2 separate regions of the Homo sapiens genome follow, and region 2 is linked to region 1. Evidence: promoter capture Hi-C in 16 types of primary human blood cells and fetal thymus (Javierre and others, 2016). All regions are on one chromosome and are shown on one strand. The core of a region is centred on a gene start or on the middle of the fragment in contact, and the rest is flanking DNA. Distances in the headings are between cores, read along the strand shown.

What was found. Contacts are between HindIII fragments. The CHiCAGO score rates a contact against its expected background, and 5 or more counts as called.
Region 2: the fragment with the promoter of MIR181A2HG here is called in contact with a fragment that was not itself captured in region 1 in 1 of 17 cell types (naive CD4 T cells); the score reaches 5.3 in naive CD4 T cells.

The regions. Positions count from the first base shown.
Region 1 is chr9:125,372,052-125,374,872 of GRCh38, forward strand. No RefSeq gene overlaps it. Among named protein-coding and RNA genes, the nearest start is that of GAPVD1, 110 kb to the left of the region's middle. The HindIII fragment of the contact is 3,508 bases long and covers 1-2,821 here.
Region 2 is chr9:124,656,946-124,659,766 of GRCh38, forward strand. It overlaps MIR181A2HG (MIR181A2 host gene), which reads left to right and starts at 1,491. Exons shown (of 2, transcript NR_038975.1): 1 at 1,491-1,796. The region is part of intron 2 of NR6A1 (nuclear receptor subfamily 6 group A member 1); the gene reads right to left. RefSeq lists enhancers at 1,538-1,657, 2,479-2,528. The HindIII fragment of the contact is 901 bases long and covers 1,055-1,955 here.

The sequences.
Region 1 (2,821 bases), core at 130-2,629:
GGTGGGGTCTCGCTATATTGCCTAAGCTGGTCTTCAACTCCTGGGCTTAAGCTATCCTCCTGCCTCAGCCTCCAAAAGTGCTGAGATTACCGGTGTGAGCTACCGCGCCTGGACATTATTAATCTTTTATTGTTATAATAGCTTAATGGGAGAAGAAAAGATTGTGGTCTATGCATGTATGAAAATTAAGAAGATCATGTTGTAGATTGATTTGCAGGATTTTTTAAAGGCGCCCTGCCTTTTTTCCTCAGCGGGGTTCTTGAGCATCCATCGGTGATCGGTGGTCGCTTCTCGCAAATCTTCTGTTTCATTTATTTTGGTTGCTAAGTAGGGAGATCCACCTTTATCTGGGTGATTCAAAATCACGATTCTCCTGTGAGCTGCTCTAATCTTAGCCTTGCCAGCAGGTGAACTTACACCTAAAATAACACTAGCTTTTCTCCTACTCATTTTCTGTTCAAATCCTCCTTTGTAATAGGATGACAGGCTAGGAGTTCAAAGGTTCTCTACTGCTTCTGTGATCCTTGTTCTAGAGGTTTCCAGGACTGCGACGCACAGCGACCTGCAAAGGCAAGAGCAGCAGCACCCAGCCCTGCAGCTGTCACAGTTCTTGCCAGTCCCTGCTGGTTGGTATCTGCGTCTGACTGAGGCATTTGGCCAAGGGCGGCAAGTACTCAGTGGGGTGCAGCCCCTTGATGGCAGGGGTGATGCCACCATGGACAGCCAAGAGAACCCATTTTTTTATTTTATTCTAGATTCAGGAGGTACCTGTGCTTGTTTGTTACATGGGTATTACATGCATAATGATGGGGTTGGGTTCCTAGCCTACCCATCACCCAAATATTGGACACTGTACCCAGGAGGCAGTTTATCAACTAACAGGCTGGGTTGTGAGCTCAAGTCCCTTTCCACTGTGGTCATAAACAGTAACCACAGTGGAGTGATTCCTGACACATGATGCCTTTCTGGGTCCAGATACTTTCATCCCTATGTGCCCCACCCTACACGCCTCTTTGTCACTCATGCCTGCCGCTGCCCAGCCTTCTTCCCTGGCCCAGGCTCTGGATTGCCCAAACCTCCTGAGGGGCCCTTGGCAAATGTCTCTTTTGTGTTGTGCGTGTGTGTGTGGCAGGGTCTCACTTTGTCGCCCAGGCTGGAGTGCAGTGGCACAATCTCGGCTCACTGCAACCTCTGCCTCTTGGGTTCAAGCGATTCTCCTGCCTCAGCCTCCTGAGAAGCTGGGACTACAGGTACACGCCACCATGCCTGGCTAATTTTTGTGCTTTTGGTAGAGACAGTGTTTCACCATGTTGGCCAGGCTGGTCTCGAACTCCTGACCTCAAGTGATCTACCCGCCTTGGCTTCCCAAAGTGCTGGGATTACAGGTGTGAGCCACCGCGCCTGGCTGGGAAATGTCTCTTAAACCTGTCCCCCGCTGCCACAGCCAGTTTTTCCACCTCCACAATCACGACTGACTCCTAGTCTCCCTGCCTCCCTCTCACCCCTTCTCCTAGGTGCCCTTAGAATTCATCAAGTCTGGCCAGGCACGGTAGCTCACACCTGTAATCCCAGAAATTTGGGAAGCCGAGGTGGGTGGATCACCTGAGGTCAGGAATTCGAGACCAGCCTGACCAACATGGAGAAACCCCGTATCTACTAAAAATACAAAATTAGCTGGGCGTGTTGGTGAATGCCTATAATCCCAGCTACTCGAGAGGCTGAGGCAGGAGAATCACTTGAACCCGGGAGGCGTAGGTTGCAGTGAGCCAAGATCACGCCATTGCACTCCAGCCCGGGCAACAAGAGCAAAACTCCACCTCAAAAACAAACAAACAAAAAAATTCATCAAGTCTGAGCAGATTCCTCTTCTGCCTAAAATCTTCTCTTTTCTACCTGGGTTCTGTCCTGCCTTTTCAGCCACATGCCTCTGGTCCTTCTCCTTCCCCTCCAGCCAGCCCCACTCCAGCCACTGAGAACTATCACCTTTCCCAAAGTGCTGCCCTTTGCCGGCCTCTAAGCCTTTGCTGATGCCCAGATCTGACTGCCTCCCCCACAGTCCTTCCTCCTGCCTCAGATGGCCCTTCTGGAGGAAAACCCCAGGTGCCCCCTCCTGCCTCCCTCCTCAGTGAGGCCTCACCCCCATCCCTCCCTCTCCAGAGCAGTGTCTCCCTGGAGCCTGTGCTCCTAGGGGAGGGCATGCCTCCAAATGGCAGGTGTCCCTAATGTTTGCAGATGGGGATGGATGAGAGGCAGAAAGTAGCCCTTCAGGGCGGGGATTCCACCATCTTTTCCTTCCAAATTCAGGCCCTGCTGGGACAGGAACTATCCCTGTCGTGGTCCAGGGCCAGGTAGTTCTTCACGTCCTCTGGGAAGACAGAGTGCCCCAAAGCCCTTGATCTCCAGTGGGTAGAATTAGGTGGGGCAGAGGCTGTGCCACACCAGGTCACACCTCTCCTGTGTCTGCTCCCACCCCACCAAGCACAGGGCCGGGATGAGGATGCCTGGAGCCCAGCTCAGTGCCTGCCTGGGTTGCAGCCCTGATCACACCAAAGTGTCTTGTCTGTTTGCAGCCCTTTATCTGGCTAGCAGGGTTTAATTTTACTCTGGGAAGGTGGGATTTTTGTCCCTATTTACTTATTATTTTCGAATTTATTATCTTTAGGTGGCATCTACAAATCGGCGTCCTCTGAGGGCAACAGCGCCCCGTTCTGCTAGAAATCCCGAGATTTGCAGCCACTGCAGCACGCTGCCTCTGCGGCTTCTCCGCACCATCCCCGACCCCTTCCCCCGCGAGTCTGCCGTCGGCCAGTTTCCTCCCAGG
Region 2 (2,821 bases), core at 241-2,740, 710 kb before region 1:
TTGCAAGAGGAGAAGAGTTCTGTGGTGGATGGATGGTGGTGAAGGCTGCAAAACAACGTGAATGCACTTAACACCACAGAACTATACACTTAAAAATTATTACAACAGTCAATTTTATGTTACATATACCTTACCACAACTTAGAAAAAAAAAAGATTGTCTTGTGGCTTACAAAAAGCAAGAGAGTGCTCATCTCCTCTTCTTTCGAACATTCTTATATCTAATAGTGCATCAAAACAGCTTTTCTCGGGTTAAGACAAGAGAATAATTCTGGGGTAGTCCTCATATGGAAGGTGCTGCATAATATAGTCAACATCTAAAAAATTCCAAGTACAAACATCCAAACCCAAAATTTACAGCAAAAGAGACAGATGGAATTATTTCAACAACTGTGAGAAAGGCAAGAAATAAACAGAACTATTGGTATGTTTAAGTATCAATTTAGGACTCTATAAGCTAATTTCTAAAGAGACAAGAAAGTCCACGGAAAAAAATGATTGGTCCATGTAGAGTAGATTTCATATATCAGAGTCAAGGTCTCACAAAACAACTTTACTGTTTTGAAACTTTAAAGAAGTGTCAACTTGCATTAAATAAACAAAGCAACTGCCATGTACTAAACAAAAATGTCACAAATGACAGTCCTGTATAATGACCTGGTTTCCCAGTGGCTCAGAAAGATGGAAAATAAACCCCAAGGACCCTAGTTCAGACAGACTGAAGAGAGCAGACCGTGGCTGTCTTGCATGATTAAAGGCTATGTCACAGCTCAGTAGGGTCCATGCTTTCATAGCTTCCCCCCCCCAGCAACCCCTAATGTGACTAGGACTGGGACAAGAGTGACAGTCTCACAAAGGGGATAAAAAGACATAAAGCTTCTTCCTCATACATCCAAACACTCCAGAATCTAAAACTTCACTTCTCTGTTGTCCATCTATCCAATTTTCATTAAGAGCAATTTATATCATATAGAGGCTTCAAAGTCAAATATGCCACTTTTATTTTTACCTTATCAAACCTATAAAATCAAGACCAAGGGTTGGTCTGGATATGAAGCTTGGTTAGGATCACAATAAATTTTCAAATCAAATAATTGGTTTCAGTTAGAGCCAAGTTTATCAACAATAGGGTGATTTAGGATTCAGGAAAAATCGGCTGCCTATTTGTATTTCAGAAAGACTAGTATTTCTTCTGACACAAGTAGAGAGGTGTAAGCAACCTCTGGGTGGGTAATGCCACCAAACAAAAGCAACACCTTCAAAGTCTCTCAGTGACTAGAGGCAGCCAGACACTCAAACTGCCAGTCCTGAATTACGGCCTCTGAATGGTGAGGGCTTCACATTTCACCGATCAGGGCACAGCCCAATCAGAAGACAAACCCCTGCACTGCCAGGGACCAGCAAATCCGCTTTCTTCCAGTGTGCACATGACTAAATGTGCTTCTGTCCATCATCTGGGTCATATATAGTTCAATGCGAGCTGAGCAGACAGGGCTGCAAGGAAATCTGGCGCGGTTCAATACCTCGTCTAGCCTGGGTTCCAGTATCTAATTTTTTTTTTGTTTTAACTGACAAACTCATTTCTCTACTGGGACAGGATGCTGTGCTGGCTGGAAGTTCCATTTCTACAGCAAGAATCCTATCTGGAAACACAGAAGTTGTCCTCTAGCCACAGCAGCTCGAACTTTTTTGATTGTCGTTGCTGCTTTCTCCCATCACCCCCATCCCCTTTTGACAAAGATCCAACTGTAAAAAGTCTTACGTAACAGTTCAGGACTACTTCGGTTCTTTTACTGGGTAAGCACTTTCAATTTTTTTTTTTTAACTAAAAGCCATTTTAAAATTGAATCTGTTGAGGGGCTTGACTAAAATCTTTTAAGTAATTTGTGTAATGGAATACTGTCAGTGGATTTTTTCGTCTCATTTCTGCACGTGCTCCTTTGTTCTCAGAACAGAAGCTTTTTATACACATCCCATAACGCAGCTGGAGAGAGTTATGAAGTCAGTTATTATAAGGAACACAAAGGTTGCTTTCCATTCTTTGCCTTTAGATAATTAATTTTTTTGTTTTCTTAAAATGGAGTATTTAAAGAAGGAAGAAATTCACAAGAAATAAACTGTTGGAGAATTTAGAAAAGTTTGAAGTTTTTACCACCTTTTCTATCTCTAGTTTTGTGTGGCCAAACACTTGTGCCGCCTGGGGCGGTGGGGGTAGAGGCAAGCATAGACAGAGAGGAACTAAGCCAGACATGGACAAAGGCACGAGCCAAAACCAGACAGTCCTGGCCGTTCGATAGGCCAGCAGTGGGTGAGACAGGTCAGCCAGCTGCAGGGGCGGGAGCGGGGGGGCGGGTAGGGACATGGATGTGTGAGGTGCTCATGCGTGCGATCGTGACTAGATTCTGAAACTGCCAGCCATTTTCCCAGCTCCGCTTTGTGCAATCTAAAGGAATGCATCCCCTCTGAAGCAGTCTTGCCAGAGCCTAGTGAGGGAGAGAAGTATGGTAAATACCACAACATATGGAATCAGAAAATACCGGGAACTGGAGTGGGCAAGGGGGAATGCAGAGGGTGTGGAAATTTTTTAGTGATCTGGAATGTGTTGAGTGACAGGAAGTGCCCCAAGCTTCTCCCCCACCAACTCTTCTCAGTCGCGCCTGCTTTTGTCTAACTCTTGTAATCTACACACTACTGCTTACAAAGCTGTCTGAGTTTAAGACAAAAAGAAACCTAAAAGTCTCCTTACTTCATAGTACCTGTGATATGGAAGGAATGTAAAAGCATGACCCTTTAAGCCTATGGACATTTTTTCAGGTATACAG